Linked DNA regions of Homo sapiens: regions 1 and 2 are each linked to region 3. Evidence: promoter capture Hi-C in 16 types of primary human blood cells and fetal thymus (Javierre and others, 2016). All regions are on one chromosome and are shown on one strand. The core of a region is centred on a gene start or on the middle of the fragment in contact, and the rest is flanking DNA. Distances in the headings are between cores, read along the strand shown.

Region 1 (3,578 bases), core at 707-3,206, 210 kb before region 3:
ACAATCCCATGTGGCCAGGGCCTGCCTCTCCCCTCTGTGTCCTGTATGCCACTCTCTGGTCCTTGGCCATGCTTGCCTCTCACAGCTTTGCCCTTTGATGTCTGCACCTCCAGTCATGCCCTTCCCCTCTTCATCCCTTCCCCCAGTTAACTCCTGTTCTCCTCCCAGAGGTGCCAGCTCAGGGACCTCTCACCCAAGGTGCCCCCTAGCCCCAGGTCAAGGTCAGGATCCTCCTACGGTGCTTCTGTGTTAGGTGGCTCCTTCCTCTGACCTGAGCACGTCCATCTCAGCTGATGACCAGATATCCTCAGCTGTGAGCTCACAGGCCTCCTGTCTCCTGTATCCGTTTCTGTTCATACGCTGGCCCTGCACCTGGCTCCGCACATGCCAGGGACATACAGCATGCTCAAATACGTGTGTGCTGAATGAATGAATGAATGAATGAGTGAGTGAGGGCGTGAACGAATGAATGAATGAGTGAGTGAGGGTGTGAACGAATGAATGAATGAGTGAGTGAGGGTGTGAACGAATGAGTGAATGAATGAATGAATGAATGAATGAAAGAGGGCGTGAACGAATGAATGAATGAATGAGTGAGGGCGTGAACGAATGAGTGAATGAATGAATGAATAAAGCAGGGAGCGTGTCCAGGGAAGAGCACAGACACTACTGCAGAAGACATGGGTCCCGGCTCACCTCAGCTCACTCCTGCCTGGGAGCACGTATGTGCCGTCTCTGAACAGTTACGACAGTGATCTTACAAATCTGTTGTGAGGAGCAGAGGGAAGGCACGTGGGGGGCTCATGAGATCTCCCAGAGATATGTCCATGTTCTATCCCCGGAACCTGTGAACAAGAACTTACTGGGAAAAGGGATTTGACAGATGTGATTAAGACAAGGATTTGGAGATGAGGAGATTATGGGTTACCTGAGTGGGCCCTACATGCCATCATGGGGTCTTTAGACAGCAGAGTAAGATCTGAGACACAGAAGATGAGATGGCCATGCGACAGGGAGACAGAGACTACAGGGAAATGGCCAGGAGCCAAGGAAAGTTGGCAGCACCAGAAGCTGGGAAAGGCAAGGACAGAGTCTCCCCTGGGGGTCTCTGAGGGTGCACAGCCCTGGTGACACCTCGATCTTGTTCCAGTGATACTGATTTTGGACTTCTGACCTCTGAAACCGAGAGAACATATTTCTATTGTTTGAAGCCACTGAGTTCGTGGTACCGTGTTACAGCAGCCCCAGGAAATGAACTCGTCATGGAAAGCATGTTGCATTGGCCTAGAGTTGGCCCTAGGGAGGTGGCAGACATCACCGTCACTAGTGCCATCGTTCTTCTGAGACTAAACTCTTAGCAGGGCTCCTATTTATTGCTCGGAATAACCAGGTTCCAGTAGATGCTCCCTTTGAGGCAGGCTGGCAGGGTAGGGGAACTCCTGTGCTGGGTGGAGGAAGGTGTCTGAGTCCTGCGTTCCCATCCCCATGTGCACAGGGCTGTGGAGCGGGCTTTCCCCCCTGCCGCCTGGATTTCATGGTCACTGACTCCCCATAGCCAGAATCCACCCAGCACACAGCCCCAGCATGCCATTTCCTCCTGCCTCGGAACCGCTGGCTTGTGTACACCAGCCCTGCCTTTGGGCCAAGATGCCTACCACCCACCAGGATCACAGGGCCATGGGTGGGTCCACGGAGCTCCAGAGTGGAGACACTGGGACCTTTTTGCTGTTGCGGAGCTGCTCAGGACCAGGTGCCCACTTCCTCAGAAATGCTGGGCAGGCGTCCTCTGGGCCCACTGACCTGCTGGAAAGGAAGCTGGAGTCCCCAAAGCTTGCCCTGCATCTCTTCCTCCCCAAACTGGAACTTCTTACTGCCAGGACAGGGCGTGCATGTGTCTGCTCTCCCAGGGCCTCCCTGGAGAGCAAGGCCAGCTCCTGCCACCCTCGGCTCTACCGACAAATAGAAACAGAGCTCCAGAACGCTCCTCTGGATGGAATTCAATCTCCTCCCCAGGGTTTTCGTTTGTTGGTTTGAGTTTTGTTGTTTGGTTTTGTAGGTGAAACTGTACACTGGCAAGCTTGCTTACCATGTTTCCCATACATTTGTTTTAAAAAGTTCTAGAAATCAAGTCCTTTCCAAAATGTACTAAGGGGATTTGCATTTTTTAAGAGCCATACAGCAAATTCTTTTGGAAAACAATGGAGAACTGTCCCTTCCTCAAACTGAAGCGCAGTCCATGTCTTTTATCAATCTGCACTCTCCTGTGTGTCTGGTGGCAGTCTGTCCTCATGGGGAGGCTCTGTGTACGGGAGCTGAGGCCGCAGTTTGCAGACATTCATTGCTGATCTGTGTCTGCGTCCACACGTCACTCCCCCGGATCAGCTGATGTTTACTGAGCATGGGCCTCTGATGGCACTGATGGTGGGGAGCTGGGGGTCTGAGGCCGACTTGGCCAGGGCCCCACATGCACCCAGGTAGTGAGGGAGCAGGTGTGGGGAGCTGGGGTTCTGAGACAGACCCGGCCAGGGCCCCGCATGCACCCAGGTAGTGAGGGGGCAGGTGGCTGCAAACCTGACTGACAAGTGCTATGCCCCACATTCCCAAGGTCTACTCTGAATCCACAAGTGCACAGATCTCAGCAGACCCCCTGAGTGCCCATGAAGCCATGGTGATGGTAAGACAGGGTGCTGCTGCTTGGCAGGCATTCCCAAGACCAGTTACGAGCTCAGGAAATCACAGGCCCTCAATCCCATAGTTCACACTGGTGCTTTGGCCGAATCACCATGCCAGGACCTCTGGGGTCACAGAGAGAGAATGGACACTGACTATAGCCTTCTAACAGTATACAAGGTGCTGGAGCAGGAAGAGGGGTGGGAGGAAAATAATTCACCCACTCTGTTGGTGCAATCTGAGAGGGCTTCCTGCAGGAGGTGGCATCTGAACTGTGCCCAGACTCTTATAAGAGAATGGAATGGAGGTGGTGAGTAGTATAGGCCTGGTGTTCTGAGATGGGAGAATAGCTGAATAAGGACATGTTGTATTGGGGAACAACCACTATAGTCCAGAGGCTGAAGGTCTGACCAGACATCTGGGTGGGAGGAGAACATGCAGGGAAAAACATAGTAGAAATGTCGGTAACCTACCTGAGCTATTTTACAATGGGAACTTCTCTTCACCCAAACCTGCCATCAAGGCAGTGAAGAGACCAGGCACGAACTGGGAGAGGATATTCACAACACATGTTGCTAACCACATAATGAGTAACCTTAGTGTGCAAAATACTTATTCAAATAATGGGAAAAAGACGACCTCATAGAAAAATGGGCAAAATAGCCCAACAGACATTTCCCAAGAAGGAAACATTAGTGGCCCATAAGCATGTGAAAGAACACTCAAGGTTCATTAGCAATAAGGGAAACAGAAAATTAGAATCACAGAAAAGAGCCATTTTGGCAAAAATTAAAATGTAGAGGCCATCACCTCCAAAGTGATGGGGCAAGGATATCACAAGGATACAGGGCAAGGCCAGCTCTCAAACTCTGCTGGTGGGAGTGAGTGTTAGCAAAACCAGCGGGCGA
Region 2 (3,645 bases), core at 626-3,125, 240 kb before region 3:
GGCTTCTGCTCCCGCGTGCAGGCCTGCCAGCGGCACACAAACTCCTTCTTCTCCCCGTGGATGTGCTCGTTGTTGATGTGCTGCCGGAGGGACATGCCCAGAAGAGGGTAAGCAGGGCCAGAGGCCCACAGACCACCCCCTGCTGTCAGCTGACCACCTGCACCGGCACCCCCCCAGCCCTCCCCGACCTGTGTGCAGACCATCCACCCTGCTGACCACACCTATTATGTTCAGACCGTGCTCCTCATTGCCCATCCCACCTACTATACGCAGACCACTGACCCAACAAGACCACCCCTACGAGCCGGGCCACGCCTCCTCATGAATCATCACTAGCTGCCCTTAAATGAAGGCCTACTGCGTGCCGCTTATCTGCCCTGCATTTTCCAATCAGTCCTCAAAGTGACCGTCTATATTGGGCAAAGCCATCCTGTGCACCGCAGCCTGGGCTCTGGTGTGATGACGCTCCCAGGCTGCAAACAGTAGGCACTAACCGCAGCGAGGCAAACGTGCCCGTAGTGGGTGCATGAGAAGCCTCTCCTAAGCTTGCCCCTATTGTTTCAGAGGTTTGTAAATAACATATTTTGTTTCAATAGAAAAATAACACATGCTTATCTCTATTTTTGGCATTGACCCATGAGATAATGGCTTTGTCCCCTTTCCACAAAGGCACAGAGAGTTCAGTGGCCTGCACAGGGCCCTGGCAGTCGGCGTGGTGGAGCCAGAACTGACCTTAATGGTGGGCTCTGGGCACTGTGTGAAGCTTATCCTGGGAGAAAACGGCCCCAGGCAAGTGAGTTGGGACAGCCAGCGCAGCACGACTAACCCTGCCGCGTATCTCGGGTAAGGCTGGGTTTACTTCCCCAGCCTGGTGGCGAGGCCAGGACACTCAGGTCTTAGAGGCCTCCCCTTCCTCCTCTGTTCTCAGTTTCCTCCCCCGTCTTCACTTCCTCCCAGCCCCCCTCCCACAACCTCTAGACCCACACTGTCTAATGCAGTGACCACTTGCCCCATGTGGGGCTCTTGCACACTTGAAATGTGGCTGGCCTGAGCTGGGATGGGCTAGAAGTGCAAACTACACACCAGTTTCAAAGACTTAGAATGGAAAAAAAAGAATATACAATATCTCAATAACTTTCTTTTCTATTGACTACCTGCTAAATGATATTTCAGATATATTGGGCTGGATAAAAAATATTAAAATTAACTTCACCTGTTTCTTTTTACTTTTAAATGCACTCCTAGGAAATGTAAATTACATGGATAGCTGGCATTTGTGGCCTGTAATATTGTTCTGCTGGACATTCTGCTGTGGAACTCTGCCACCAAAAGAGGCTGTCCCAAGAGCCAAGCATCAGGCACTGGCAGCACCTTGCCCCAGAAGACAGAAAACTGCCAGGCCCTCATGCCCTGTGCGACTCGCCCAACTGTCACGCGTACAGATGCCCCTGCTGGAGCATGTGAAATCTCCAGCGCTTTGAACTTCCAGGGAAATCTTATCATATTAGCCTCACTTTCCATTTTTAAAGCCTTTCAAATGATAAAAATGCTTCCTGACAATGGCTTTCATTTTTTTCTTATTGGTTTACTTAGCAACAAATTGTTAATAATCGACCAGGGGCTCCAGCTCGCCTGTGCGCCTGCTCCATCCATCTTTCCAGGGAGCAGAGAGAAACAGAGAGAGACAGACAGACAGAGCTGGGTGAAGGGGTCTGCTTTTTCCAGGGCCTGGTGGAGGTGGCCACCTATAGCTCCAGGACAGTCCAGGGCACAGGCAGAAGCCCCTGGCTAAAGCCCTCCTCCCAGTTTGGGGACCCTCCGCATTCATCTGAGGAATTCCGTGCCTGCTCTTTGGGGCTGACCCACTTATCACAGAGCACGTCTTTGACATCCTCATCTGCATGCTCTGGCTTTGGCCTTCCCCTGGCCTGAGAGACTGTCCCTCTCTCCTCCTTTCATCTAACTGATTTGTTCTGCAACTCACAGCTCCACGGTCCCTGCTCCATCTAGGGCTTGTTTACCCCAAAGAGGTGGTACAAGTTGAAAAATTAAGTTTGAGATCCAGAAGGGGTTAGATAAGACCCTGCTTCACCAGCTGCATTCGTTTGCTGGGAAATTCTGGCCTTCTGGGTGAGAACTGTGTTTGGGAGGACAAACTCCAACACAAAAGAAACCTACGGTATTTGTGAGCAAGTTGCATAAGTGGAAGAAGCAGAGGGAGTCGGCGTGTCCTAAATGCTAAGTTCACAGAGCTGGGGAGAAGCAAGCGCCTCTGGACAGCTTCTGAATATGAATCGGAGACGCGTGCATGTGTGTGTGTGCATGTGTGTGCACGTGCGTGTGTGTCTGCTCTTCCCAGCAATCGAGCTACTAATTTAGTGGGTTCATCTTTATAGACACTCACTCACCAAGGAGCATGTGCTGGGGAGTTGGGAGGTGGCTTTCTTGAATTTAAGTTCTTCTCTGGATGGAGAAGAGAGAACCACTCAGGGCTGGTGTGGGGAACAGGCAGGAGGAGGAAGGAGGGAGCTGCTAGGTGCGGAATGTCTGCAAGGCACTAAGTGCTGACAAACATGATTGACCCTCCTGTGGGGTAGCATCAACCCCCTTTATAGGAAACAAATGAAGCTCACAGAGGTGGAGTCACTTGCTCAGAACCACTCAGCTGGTTGTGGTGGGGACAGGTTTGGAGCCAGGTGTCTCCCGTGCCAAGCCTCTGCTCTGCACATTGCACACATCACCCCTAACTGCCATATAAGGGACGCTGCAGTATGAGAGTTTGGAATGAGGACCAAGAGGCATATCCTGAAGGTCTCGCCGGCTCCCATGGTCATCTCTAATCACCTGAGCTGTCAGTACTCAGGCACTGTTAAGCAACCTCCTCTCTGATCTGGGTGTAGACGCCCACCTGCACCCATATCCACTGGGTATCTGTGAATAGTCCCCAAAAGGAAAGGATCAACTCCTTCCTTCATGGGAGAAGCTTCTTTCACTTATTATTGTGTAGATACTGGCTGGTTTAACTAATCGTATTTCCCTCTTTGCACTGGCTATTAGGAATCTCAGAAAAAAAAAATGTGTATATAGAATATAGCTCAAAGCACTCGGTTTTTAATACTAACTCTATTCCTGGTTTCACTTTATTGTTCTCTTTTCCCTGACAGTCTCATTTACTTATTTTTTCTTTTAATTGTTTGTATTACATATGTATTGGAAGCCATCTTAAAAACAGGCAGGACACACATAAGTAATTATGCCTCCCACTTGCAGGGGATGTGGCCCAGGCATCTCTGGGGGTCTCTTCCTCCAGCCCCTTCTGTCTAGTAGAGGCCCTGGAAGGCTCAGCATCCTGCATGGCCTGGGCCGTGCCCCGGTTGGCGGGCTGCTGGGGTTCAAAAGCTTACATGCACCAGCTGCTCCTGGGTGTCGTACTCCTTGGTGCAGTCTTCCCAGTGGCAGTTGGTCTCATAGATGACCACCTCAGCCTCCTGCTTACAGTCATCCCTGTCCAGATCTTCCTTGAGGTCAGCCAGCTGCTCCTGGGAGAGGGGAAGGGCACACCCACATGAGCCGTGTCCAGACACCTGGCCCTGAAAAGAGGTCGCTGTTAGTCCCATGCATTCTGTGCCAAGGACCCTGGGCTGT
Region 3 (3,349 bases), core at 431-2,930:
GGGACGCCTACAAGACTCCCAGGGCGCGGGACCAGACAGTAGGGACAGGTCTACTTTTCCAGCTGGGATCAACTCTAGGAGCCACAGAACAATTACACAAAAGAGAAGGTAGTGGAAAGAGGCACCCTCGGGGGGGCTCGAGGTCCCCGAGAGCCTCAGCGACCGATCACCCAGGGTGAGGCGCACGGGCTCCATCCCCAGCTCCCCGCGCGGTAAAAGTCGGGTTTCCTAGGAAATGACAGCAGTTACCGCCGGGCTGAAAAGGCGCCGAGCTGGGTGGACTCCCAGCTCTCCAGCGCGGCGGGCGCGCTCACACTCACACACGCAAGCACACGCTCCCTCCCAGCTCCCCGCCCCCGCCCCGTCCGGGGAAAAGACTCCCCTCTCTAAACCCTTAATAGGATTGGCGCCCAACTCTCTCCGCGCCTCTCCCCATCCATCACATACAGATCAAGTTGCAGTAGTGGATTTTTCAAATTCCTCAGCAAATATACTTGTTGAGAGATTGTCGGGGGTGGGGAGAGACGATGAGTAGGGGGGCAGGGATGAAAGTGAGGTGGAAGGGGGAACCGGAGGACCCGGCAAAGGATTACGTGCGGATCCCTTTGGGAAGTCAAGCGGATCTCAGGGCCGAGGGCAGGAGAGGAGGAGAAGAGAGGCAAAGAGGGGGGGCCGAGGAGGAGAGCCCAGCAGAGGGGGAGGGGGCGGCCGGGCCGGGCGAGGGGGAGGAAGGATTGAGGAAGGAAGAAAGAAAGGCAGGGCTCCGGGACGCGCAGCGCGGAGAAGTGGAGTTCGAAGTTCTCAAGTGGCTGGCTGCAGCCCCTCCGCGCTCAGTACGCCCGCAGACACGCTCCCATGCCCACCTACGGCAGCTTCGGAGCATCCCAGCCTCCGATCCCACCCTCCACCCCCTGAAAAAACAGACCCCCGCCGGCGCGCGGAGGCCGGCTCGCTGTGCACCCCGAGAAGAGTGGTGCTCTCCCCCAGGTAGGGAGAGGGTGCAACATCGACCTCTGGCCACGAGCTCCAAGCCCCAGGACTCTCCTTACGTCCCCGCCCTGCTCGTCCAGAGCCCCAGGCGGGGTCGCGCCTACTAGCCTCTAGTCCCCCGAAGCCCAGGGCCCCGATCCCAAGGCCTAGGCGCCGGTACCCGGCCGAGGGACCCCCCGAGACGGCGCAGCATCCCAGTCGGCCCGCGCTTGGCCGAGGTGGGAGGCGCTTCGTCACGAAAAGCAAGCAAAAGAAGGCCAATGCAACTTTACCGAGAGAGACAAAAGTTTGCCTCTAGCACGCAGGTGGCCTCTCGGGCGCCGGGCGGTGGCTGTGGGCCCCCATCCCACCTTGGCTGGCGCGGCGACCCTCGGCTGGCTGCCTTGTGCCGGGGCTCCAGCCAGCCGGGGCGGGGCGGGCCAGGCAAGAGAGGGGACCGAGAGGCGGGCGGGCGCCGCGCAGCCCCTACCGCCGGCGAGCAGGCGGCTCCCCGAGGCTGCGGCGCGCCGCGCGGCCCAAGCTCTTTCCTCCGGCTCCTCCTGCGGCTCCTGGCCTTCCTCCGCGTTCGCAGTCGCAGCCGCCGCCGCCGCCCGCTCCTCCTCGAAGTCTCATTGATGGGAGTTTGAAAAAAAGTCCGCGGAGCCGTGCTGCCTCGGCTGGCAAGCGCCGGCACTTCTGCAATCCATCAGCGCCGCCGGACTGCGCAGCGCCCCCGCGCGCACGGTGCGGGCACACCCGGGCCCCAAGAACCCGCCAGCCAGCCCGCCCGCTCCCTGCCGGGGGACGCAGGGGGACCCGAACGCCGCCGGGGCGGGGGGAGGGGAAAGGGGGAGCACAGGGACTCTCCCCACCCAGCACCAAGGAAAGAAAACGCACCTACAAGGAAAGTTCGAGAAAGGAACCAAAGGACGCGCCAATCTCCGACACTTTTTTTAGACGACTAGGTGTGGGGGGGGGGGTTGGGGGTGTCGCTAACTCAAGTCAGATGAGCTCCGGAGCTGAGGGGCAAGGGCTGCTCTGTTTTCAATCTCTGAAATCCCCCCGCCCTCCCCACCTCCCACTTCCCTCCTCGGGGAGATGCCTGGGTCGCTGTTCCCAGGGCGCCCGCTTCTCTGGACGCCCGCGCGGAAGCCGGGGACGCCAGAGAAGGGACGCGGGGGCTGGGTCCACGCGGACCCTCTTCCCGCGGGCAGCGAGCGCAGGTGCCGGGGGTCCTGAGGCGTCCCCCGCCGCCGCTAGCCCTCGTCGCCATCTGAGCACACGCTGGCGAGAAACGAAGCAGCCTTCTAGGTTTGGTGCATGTGGCTTGCAGGGTGGGTTTTTGTTTTGTTGTGTTGTGTGTTTTAGAGACTCCACTCGAGCCGCTGAAGCCAGATGGAAGTAATCAGAACCCAACAACAACAGAGAAAGAAGGAAGAAAAAACTCCTCATTGAATTTTCTAGCCAAAGTGTATATGGGGCTGTGTGTGAAAGAACTTGCTTAAGCAAGCTCAGTGAGGAGCCCTGGGCCCTCAAGCCACACCACAGCCCGGAACTGGGCCGCCAGGCTTGGAGGAGAATTGGGGGCAGCTGGCTAAAGTGTCCTCCCCACACCCCCGGGCCTGCCACCCTCTCCAGGGCCCCTGGGCCTCACCCGAAGAGGGTCTTGGGGGGAATTTCTGGTTTTATTCTTCCTAACGTTTGTAGAACACTCTACCAAGTGCCAGGTGATGTTATATTTTCTTTGTATTATTGGACTTTCACAGCTCTGTAAGGAAGGTTCTCTTCTCGTGTTTTTACAGGTGGGAAGTCTGATGCTTTAAAAAGTTAAGTAACTAGTCTAAGGTCAGAGCACTCTGCCATCCTCCCAGAGCTTCGGGTGGTTGTACTGTAAGTTCAGTTAAATTTGCCCTGTTGGGCCGGGCGCGGTGGCTCACGCTTGTAATCCTAGCACTTTGGGAGGCCGAGGCACGGGGATCACCTGAGGTCAGGAGTTCAAGACCAGCCTGGCCAACATGGTGAAACCCCGTCTCTACTAAAAATACAAAAAATTAGCCAGGGATAGTAGCGCGCGCCTGTAATCCCGGCTACTTGGGAGACTGAGGCTGGAGAATCTCTCAAACCCCTTGGGAGATGGAGGTTGCAGTGAGCCATGATGGCGCCACTGCACTCCAGCCTGGGTGATGGAGCGAGACTCTGTCTCAAAAAAATAAATTAATTAAATTAAATTTTTAAAAAATTGCCCTGTTGAGGTGGGTGGAAGTGTCTCTCCCTTCAGCCCCTGTTCCTAAAATTGCATTTTATTTGAAATGCAAGGGACCCAATGCTACCCTCCCTGAGGGGATGTGACCTACACAGGCCCATTTCACCGGTGCAACCC

Evidence for each region. The method cuts DNA at HindIII sites, captures the fragments that hold promoters and counts their contacts. A CHiCAGO score of 5 or more calls a contact.
Region 1: a fragment that was not itself captured here is called in contact with the fragment with the promoter of GLI2 in region 3 in 1 of 17 cell types (megakaryocytes); the score reaches 5.8 in megakaryocytes.
Region 2: a contact is called between a fragment that was not itself captured here and the fragment with the promoter of GLI2 in region 3, in 2 of 17 cell types (erythroblasts and endothelial precursors). The highest score is 5.9, in erythroblasts.

The regions. Positions count from the first base shown.
Region 1 is chr2:120,939,847-120,943,424 of GRCh38, reverse strand. All of the region lies in intron 3 of GLI2 (GLI family zinc finger 2), which reads right to left. Among named protein-coding and RNA genes, the nearest start is that of GLI2, 210 kb to the right of the region's middle. RefSeq lists an enhancer at 1-273. The HindIII fragment of the contact is 247 bases long and covers 1,833-2,079 here.
Region 2 is chr2:120,974,869-120,978,513 of GRCh38, reverse strand. GLI2 (GLI family zinc finger 2) reads right to left here. Exons shown (of 14, transcript NM_001374353.1): 9 at 3,405-3,539; 10 at 1-80. Among named protein-coding and RNA genes, the nearest start is that of GLI2, 240 kb to the right of the region's middle. The HindIII fragment of the contact is 2,220 bases long and covers 766-2,985 here.
Region 3 is chr2:120,734,199-120,737,547 of GRCh38, reverse strand. It overlaps GLI2 (GLI family zinc finger 2), which reads right to left and starts at 1,680. Exons shown (of 14, transcript NM_001374353.1): 1 at 1,263-1,680. It overlaps LOC124906073 (a long non-coding RNA gene), which reads right to left. Exons shown (of 3, transcript XR_007087219.1): 3 at 2,698-3,349. LOC124907881 (a long non-coding RNA gene) reads left to right here. Exons shown (of 2, transcript XR_007087221.1): 1 at 1-987. RefSeq lists enhancers at 1-476, 1,595-1,764, 2,404-3,051. The HindIII fragment of the contact is 6,148 bases long and covers 1-3,349 here.